2 separate regions of the Homo sapiens genome follow, and region 1 is linked to region 2. Evidence: promoter capture Hi-C in 16 types of primary human blood cells and fetal thymus (Javierre and others, 2016). All regions are on one chromosome and are shown on one strand. Each heading gives the region's core, a stretch centred on a gene start or on the middle of the fragment in contact. The rest is flanking DNA. Distances are from core to core; before and after follow the strand shown.

The links. Contacts are between HindIII fragments. The CHiCAGO score rates a contact against its expected background, and 5 or more counts as called.
Region 1: a fragment that was not itself captured here is called in contact with the fragment with the promoter of PIK3CG in region 2 in 1 of 17 cell types (naive CD4 T cells); the score reaches 5.0 in naive CD4 T cells.

Annotation. Positions count from the first base shown.
Region 1 is chr7:107,900,864-107,905,386 of GRCh38, forward strand. DLD (dihydrolipoamide dehydrogenase) reads left to right here. Exons shown (of 14, transcript NM_000108.5): 3 at 875-954; 4 at 1,462-1,530; 5 at 2,615-2,684; 6 at 4,095-4,195; 7 at 4,498-4,523. Among named protein-coding and RNA genes, the nearest start is that of DLD, 12 kb to the left of the region's middle. The HindIII fragment of the contact is 3,883 bases long and covers 1-3,671 here.
Region 2 is chr7:106,862,755-106,866,995 of GRCh38, forward strand. PIK3CG (phosphatidylinositol-4,5-bisphosphate 3-kinase catalytic subunit gamma) reads left to right here and starts at 2,528. Exons shown (of 11, transcript NM_001282426.2): 1 at 2,528-2,672. RefSeq lists a silencer at 1-104 and an enhancer at 2,600-2,699. The HindIII fragment of the contact is 4,956 bases long and covers 1-2,991 here.

The DNA of each region.
Region 1 (4,523 bases), core at 480-2,979, 1.0 Mb after region 2:
GGGAAGAAAAGGGAGACTGTTTCCTAACTCTTAACAGTCACTGTTACTTTATTTGAAGTTGGATTGAGAAGAATGGGAGTAATTGGACTTACTTGCACATTTGTATTACAATTGTTAAACTCCTAAGGATACTGATCAAAATTAATTTTCAATTTTTTATCTTTATTTGAAAAATGGCCACAATAGTTAATTGAATATTCTGGTTAGCCTATTATCTTAAGGTATGTAAAAATTATCAATATGCAAGTACAAAACATATTTGTTAAATATTACATAGAAGCTGTTTTTTCCCTCATATTTCAGAAGTTAAGGACCTGAAAAAGGTAATAGGTCTTAAATTTATTGGAAATACTAAAGCATTATATAAAATTATCTTATTTAATTCTAACATCAATCATTGAAGGCAGTGTTTTCATCCCCATATTACAGAAAGGTTAAGTCATTGGGTCAAGTTCATACAACTACTCATTGGCCGTGCTGAGATATGAAGCCCAGAATGTCAGATTCCAAAGCTCAGGCTCTTTGCTTCATACATACTTGTCTTCCAGTATCACTAAATTCCGTCAGTTATTAAATCAATAGAATTTAGGAAGGTCAGTGAATACAATGTGAGTGTTACAGAACTCAGTTGTGTTTCTGTATGTTGTAATGAATAGAAAATAATAGAAAATGAAATTTGAGTATTTATGCCATTTTTCAGTAGCATCAAAGAGCATCAAGTAGTAGTAATAAAATAGTGCAGAAACTATGTAGAAAATGCTGATTTGTACTGTAAGAGGTTTAAGTATCGGGTTATTTGTTTGCTCTTCCAAAGAGCTCTTTTTGGTAAATATTAAGCAATTTACTATTTTATATCAATTTGCTTTTATCGTAGTTGATGCTGATGTAACAGTTATAGGTTCTGGTCCTGGAGGATATGTTGCTGCTATTAAAGCTGCCCAGTTAGGCTTCAAGGTAAGGTTTGAACTCAAACTAAGTATTGATTTATTTTAATTTGGGAAGGGTTGATCATATTTATAAAGTACTTTGCAGGCAAAAACATGGTAAATACTTCCTTAACTCTATAAATTACTTGTAAGCCTGAGACTAATAAAGATTAGGTTCATTTGGTTGTAGTATTCTCTTGGAATGGAAAGTGAAATCTATTAGTTTTCTTCTCTTCCCAGTACTTTTCATTTTGGCATCTAATCACACTTTGGAAGATACAGTGATAGAACTAAAAGCATATATTTGGTAATGTTAAGCACACAAAAATATCTTTTAGAATAATTCACTTTTGGGTCAGCCCAAAAGTGTTTATTATTATTCAAATGATAAATTATAAAGGACTATATATTTTAGTCTGTGAAAACATAGCCCGAATAGCTTGTTTTGTAGAAGAATTAAGACATATATTTGGAATTTTAGTGATCTGAAACATTGAGGTTATGTGCAGTTAAATAATGTTTTCTTTGGTTGTAGACAGTCTGCATTGAGAAAAATGAAACACTTGGTGGAACATGCTTGAATGTTGGTTGTATTCCTTCTAAGGTGAGCATGTGTTTTGTACAGCACAGAGATTGTTTTTGGCTAGCAACCAACTAGAAGGATGGATTGAGACTAGATTAGACAAATACACTTGTTAAAAAACAATCCAAGTTGTGGCACATTTCACACAGAGAAAAAAAAGAATGATAAAAAACACACTTCTCTTTTGTAAAACTTAAAGAGTGCTGTCACTAGTCTGCCACACATTCCTGAAATAACTTCCTTGTCTCAGAATGCCTAGCTTTCCATTCAAACAGACTCTGATGTTCTAGTTTTTTCTCTTTATCTTTCCTTCACCAGTGTAACAGATAATAGATAGTAAATTGTTCTTTTAGGTCCTTTTTGTATGTAAACATGACTGCCTTTTTCACCTGCCACCCTGAAGTGTGTACTTATGCCTTTACTTTTAAAGAAAGTAAAAATGTCTTTTTCATTCTTGTTTGTTGAATGTTTTTCACATCATTATTGTTTGTCTTTGATTAATAAGAGAAACTGAATTGGTGTAGTGCCATATACTATTCCATGTAGAGAATGCCATGTCTTTTTTTTAACTTCTTTTTAAATTTTTATTGTAAATTGACAAATTACAATTGTATATATTTATGGCATACAAAGTGGTGTTATGATTTATGACTATAATGTGGAATAATTTAGTCAAGTTAATTAACATATTCATTACCACAGTACTTATCATTTTTGTGATGAGAACATTTGAAAGAGAATATCGGCCGGGCGCGGTGGCTCACGTCTGTAATCCCAGCACTTTGGGAGGCCGAGGCGGGTGGATCACCTGAGGCTGGGAGTTTGGGACCAGCCTGACCAACATGGAGAAACCCCATCTCTACTAAAAATACAAAATTAGCCAGGCGTGGTGATGCATGCCTGTAATCCCAGGGACAATTGCTTGAGCCCGGGAGGCGGAGGTTGCGGTGAGCTGAGATGGCGCCATTGCACTCCAGCTTGGGCAATAAGAACGAAACTCCGTCTCAAAAAATGAAAAGAAAGACTATCATTTCATAAGTGCTTTTTGATTATTTGAAGTCTGTTTATGAATATTTGATAATTTGATCTTTTTAATTTCCTTTAGGCTTTATTGAACAACTCTCATTATTACCATATGGCCCATGGAAAAGATTTTGCATCTAGAGGAATTGAAAGTAAGTATACTTTTCATGCTTAATGATATTACCAGACTGCTTGACTTGGCTCTTCTGTCTAAAGACTTAAATGTGTCTAACGTACGCATAATAGATGTTTAGTGAAGGAAGAGTAAAATAAATAATCTAAAAAATGTGGAGAGATTTACTTAAAAAAGAAGGCCTAAATCCAGATTTCTCCCAGCCAAGTATAACCAAGCCTAACCCTGCAAATCCAGATTTCTACCATTATATCTTCTGTTCCTTTGCCAACTTTTTCCTGAGGTTTGCCTTTATGTGTTTTTGAAGAGTCAGTTTTCATTTCCTAAAATCTGGAAATCACTGAGAAGGCTGGATTCCTGAGTACTATGGGGAGATAGAGGAAGGAAGGAAGGCCCACTTAAGCTGTTGATAGTAGAAAAATTAGAGGAGAGAAAGAGTGAGGCATAGCGGAAAAGGAAGAGGACATTTCATAACGTATCTTGTCTCCTGACATACTTTTTGAGCTGTTTTAATCTTTTGTCTCCAATTATTGTTGTTGTTAGATACTTCCAGAAAGGTAGTCTCTTCTGGGCAGGACCTAGTCATAACCTTGGGTTGTTACTTTTCCTTCATTTGTTTCTTTACAGAGGTAGGTTTGAGGGGCTACTTAAGGCAATCCATTGGGTATAGAGATGATGTATATGCACTAAAGCAAATAGAATATCATACTAGTTGAAAAATGGAATGACGTAAAGAAAGAAGAGCTAGGGGTAGTCAGGAGACCTGCATTGTAGGCAAGGCTTTTACATCCTAGCTCTGTGACCTTGGGTAAATCAGAAATCTCTCAGAGTCTCTTTTTCCTTATCTCTAATATATGTGTTGGTTATATGAGGTACTTTCTAAGATACCCTTCTTACCTCTAAAGTTTAATTGAGTTGAGCATTTTTATCTAATACTGTTGCTTCAGAGTTCTCTTCTGAGTTGAATGAGTGATTAAAACCTAGGTGATTAAACTTTTTAATGTTAAGCTTCTGTATTTGAAATTTTTAAACGTGTATTTTTTATTTGTTTTGTTTCATGAAATCTAGCATTTTCCTTTATTTAAAATTTCAGATGATGTTTTACTTTGTCATTTCTACTTACATATCTTCCAGACTTATAACCATCGTAAAGTGTTCAGAGGATATGTTATCACAGTGGGATATAATGTTTTATTTTGGACTGCCTTTTTACCCAAGGTAGACATTTTATAGTGTTTGATAGGTTCTGTTTCTGTGATACAATGATGTTGGCCTTTTGTCAACTATAATTATAAGTTATTACATTTTGAAACTTTAATACTGCCTTTTATAAGCATTAGGTTGAAATTTTCCAGTTGGTGAGTGAAAAACACTGCATATTGCTTCAAGAATTTAGCTAAGAACTAAAGATTAATTGAACAAATTACAGTGTCCGAAGTTCGCTTGAATTTAGACAAGATGATGGAGCAGAAGAGTACTGCAGTAAAAGCTTTAACAGGTGGAATTGCCCACTTATTCAAACAGAATAAGGTCAGTGTTTAATATTCAGATTTCTGCTTTACTTTGAATACAAATTAAACTTTGCATTATAGAGTGATGATATTTGAACTTGGTTACAGGGGAATATTTATTTAATTTAAAATAGCTTGCTAACCTGAAATAGATTTCCCTGACATATATCACAGATTTTTTTGCTGCACCATGGTGTAGCATTACTAAGTAAGGAAGCATTTTGTTTTAGATAAATTATTTACAGAGTAATTTTTCCTTTGAATGATTTATCAAACAAATTACTTTAAACTTTGTGAATTTATAAAGATTATTTTGTAAAGGTTGTTCATGTCAATGGATATGGAAA
Region 2 (4,241 bases), core at 1,278-3,777:
GCTATCTTTCTCAGACTCTCCATTTCAGTGAACTGATCTGTTCACTGTCCCACAGATGCCTTCTGGCTTGAGGACTTGCCCCTGTGATTCCTCTTGCCTTGAATCCTGGACCTTCCCCTGCACATTTAAAACAAAAATTTTCAAATCTCACCCAAAGTGAACTCCTCCAGTAAACTGTTGGCTTGCATAATGAAAGTTACATCACACAATTAAACCGCTTGGACTGCATATGCTAACGCATTGCACATGTTATTCTTTCCTCTGCATGTTCTGTCTCTCCAAGTAGACCATAAATAATCTCTCTGAAGGCTGTTGGAAAGAGCCTTCCTCAAAACAAATAATTTTTAATGTCTATTGATCACTGATACTTCCTACTGTGTTCTTATTTTCTAAACTGTTCTATCTTGTCATTGCTGTGACCACTGATATGATATAGAAGGTCAGAGCCTTTGATTGTGTTTTTTTTCCCAACCAAAATGATTTCTGTGTCCACAGATTCACAGAAGGGAAAAATATTATTAAAATGGGATATTAATGAGGACTGAAGGTCTTCTAAATATTCTGGGGATATAAAATATTCTTACTCGTAAAGGATGCCTCTACACGGAGGAAGTATCCACAGAGGAAGGAAATCTTTGCCATTACTTCTTACTGGGAACATTTACTACAGATAGTCAAATTTTAGTGGCTATATTAAGATTTGGGGAAGAGCAGGGTACTTTTAATCTCAAGCCACCAATAAACCTGACATATTTGCCAGTTTAGTCATAAAACAGAAAATCCTTTGCCTAATCAAACTTAGCTTAATAGTTCCTTCAGAAGCAGGCAGGGCCAAGAGGCTGAGTCTCGTGTTTCTGGAATAATGTGGCATGTGTGTGTGTATGTGCAGTGCCAGATTGGGACTTGGCCCCCTGGAAGTGACTGAGCCAGGACAGGGAAGGGATCTATTGAATGGTCTGGGGAACAGGGCTGGCCAAGCTCATGGTCCCTCTGAGGTCAGCCCTCCCACCCTCAAACCTCCTCCCACTCCACCCACCCCCAGGAACCCTCCCACACACTCTGGGTAAAACACAGCTTGGCAAGCTCTCACATCATGGCTTGGTGGCTACAGTGTGTTGATCTTCCCTCAGGACCAACCAAGAAAGCTAGCCTTGGTGCTTCTAAAGCTGCCAGCCTCCTAAGGGAGTATTCCTATATAGGAATATACTTTGAGAAGCTGATAAGACCCCTCTAAATATTTGGGAGGCAGCCTTTGAATTAAATTATTTGCCTGCTGATGTCAACTATTAGAGTGCTATTTAAAAGTTAAAACCCAAGAGGCATATGTAAAAGGAAATAAGTCAAATCAATCATTTATCTCAATATCAGAGTAATTCAGAGGAACTCTTAATTACATACCTCCAAGAGACTTGTGAGGTCAACTCCATTCTATCTGCTGCCCTTGAAGCTCAGCTGGAGTCCCTCAACACCCCGATTGGAGGATGAACTCTAGCATAGGGAATTCTGAGATGGAGGGAGGGGGCGCTGGTTCAGGATGCTTGGAGGTTCTAGAAAGAACTGAGGTCACCTGGAAGATACAACGCTACTCTAAAAATGATTCAGGATGGCTTTTCTATGCATTCTCTACTCCCATAGGAATCAGGGGCCACCTCCCAGGATGGAATCTGCCTGATGCTGTAACAGTGTTCAGCTCCCCAATTTCCCCATGATAACAGGCAACCTCCTTCTGTTTTGTCTACAGTTAATTAATCAGTCATTGCTGACAGTAAGGCTCCATCCTCAACACAGGATATTTTCTGAAGCATTAATTTTTGTTTCAATAGTTGATCCTTGTTTGGAATATAATGTGTTACAATGTAGTGGTACTTAGTATTAAAATCAAAATACCTTTTTATTCATCTTTCAATTTTAATACTTTTAGCATTTCAACCATTATTTGAAGGGTTACTTACTGCAGTATGTCACATTTATATACACACATGCACATGCTGCAGTGCTTTCAGTTTGAGCCAGTGATATTTTAGGCCCCAAATGCTCTGAAAAAATAGAGAAAGCTCTCACCAAGCTAAGGAAGTGAGCTTGCAGACCATGCCTTTAAAAATTTTCAGCTTGATAACTTAGTCCTCAAGATGACTAGGTTTCTCTTCCCCCACCCCTCAGTTAGCATGTGCGAACAAGGATTCTTTTGAATTCCCAGGAGGGGAATGAGTTTAATTTGACTGGTAAAAGTCTTCCTAATAGGATACCTAATACTGTGGCTCTTAGAACTAGCTACAAAGATATTTCATATGTTTATGTCTCATAATGGGTAATTTTGGTTTGGATTTATGTCATTTTGTCTCAGTATCACAATTTTTGAAAAATTAGTTCAAAGAGAAAAAAAAAAGAAAAGAAAAACCATGGTAAACATTGCTCAGTCTCATACTCCTACCCTCTCTATGCTAAAACAGGAAATGCATTTCTGACACTTTTAAAATGAGCAATCACACGTATAATCAACTTGGTTAAAACTTCCTTCCTGGTAACTGCAACACTTCCTCTGCATCTGGATATGAAGGGAGCCCCAGAAAAGCGGAAGAATTTAGACGCACACTGGGTAGGTTTGAATTTGTTTTGTTTTCAAAAATTAAACAAATGATCCTTCAGCATCATCGCCTCCGCTGCTTTATCAGGTATTGCTTCCTTCTATTTTTTGCTCTTTGTGGGGTCTGACTCGGAATAGTGGCACTTCCTTCTCGGCTAGATTATCTGAAACTGTTGTCGGTTCTTGAGATGATACTACCACCGAATGTCTGTGTTTCATTGTCTAGTCCAACCTGTATTGTGGATATCTACAACGTTCCGGCAATAGTTTTGCAGGTGCATCACATTTTTGTTTTTGTTTTGGGAGGAAAAGGGAGGGCACGGCAGCCAGGCTTCATATTCCTACAAGTGCATGCTTCAAGATTACTGTACTTACAGTGTTTCCAACATCTTCTCATAAAAGGGGAAAGCTTCATAGCCTCAACCATGAAGGAAACCAGTGAGTATTAGTCAGCCTGTTTTCCTCTGCATCTTATAAGATCGTTTGGTATCACTGAGGCAGAAGTTATTGCTGTGTATTTATATGCTGCCTAAATTTGGACATGTTTTATTTCAAGTTAGTGTCAATATCAATGTATCTTACAGTTCTCTTCTTTGTTAGTTATTCTATAATGTAGCAAAAGACCAAAATGAATGTTTTAAGCCACAAGAGACAGTTCTTTGGGACAGTTGGTTTCACTTACTAAGTATAACTTCATATTTTAAGAGAGGGAATATTGGTTTTAAAAGTTAAGCCAAGATTTGAACATAAGTTTGGATCAAATGAAATTTGTCTTTCTTATCTTCTTATCAAGCTCTCCTTTTTGGTATACATCAAATGCTCCACTATTTCTTAAGGAAATAATGTAGTTTTAAGTCTAACATTAGTTATTTAAGAGAGTAAACGATATTTTCTGAAACATTAATTTTTTGTTTCAATAATTGATTCGTTTAGAATATAATGTATTACAATGTAGTGATACTAAACATTGAAAGCAAAATACCTAATCTTTCAGTGTTAATACCTTTCAAATTTCAATTATTATTTGAAGGATTTCCTATTGCAGTATGTCCTATTTATACATAAGTGCTTTGTGAAGGGTAGGTACTTACTGAATTTTGTGGAAAGAGTGAGTAGGTTAATGAGAATAAATTTGTGAATTTGTGTTACAAAAATGAAAATATTAGAGCAAAAAAGAAGTTAAATGATTGGGGGTCTTAACAGAAGGTCACTGGAGTCCAGAAATCCTGCCTTCCATCCTGTAGCTCCTCCATTATTAAGTAGAGACAGATCAAATGAATTTTAATTAATTAATTAAACAATGTTAAAATTACCTAAATGTTCCTATTGGGAGAGTACAGCCTTGGGTGACTCTTCTAAGATACTGCCCTAATATAGCAGTGACAGCCAGAATGCTGACAAATTCCATGATTCAAAATTTTACATATCTGCAAATGGTTTTGACTGTAACTTTACTAATTCCGATATGTTTTAGCTTTACAAATGAAATGACTTGCTTTCCTAATTAGAAAGAAAAAATGAAACCAAGAGGCAGGAAATTTATTAGGGAGTAGATCCTAGGTCCAGGCAGTTTGAAAACAGGCAACGTGAAGCAAGGCTGGGTGAGGTGTCTGGGTTCCAAGAAGTGTGAGACTTAACAAAGAGGAAGTAAGTTAAA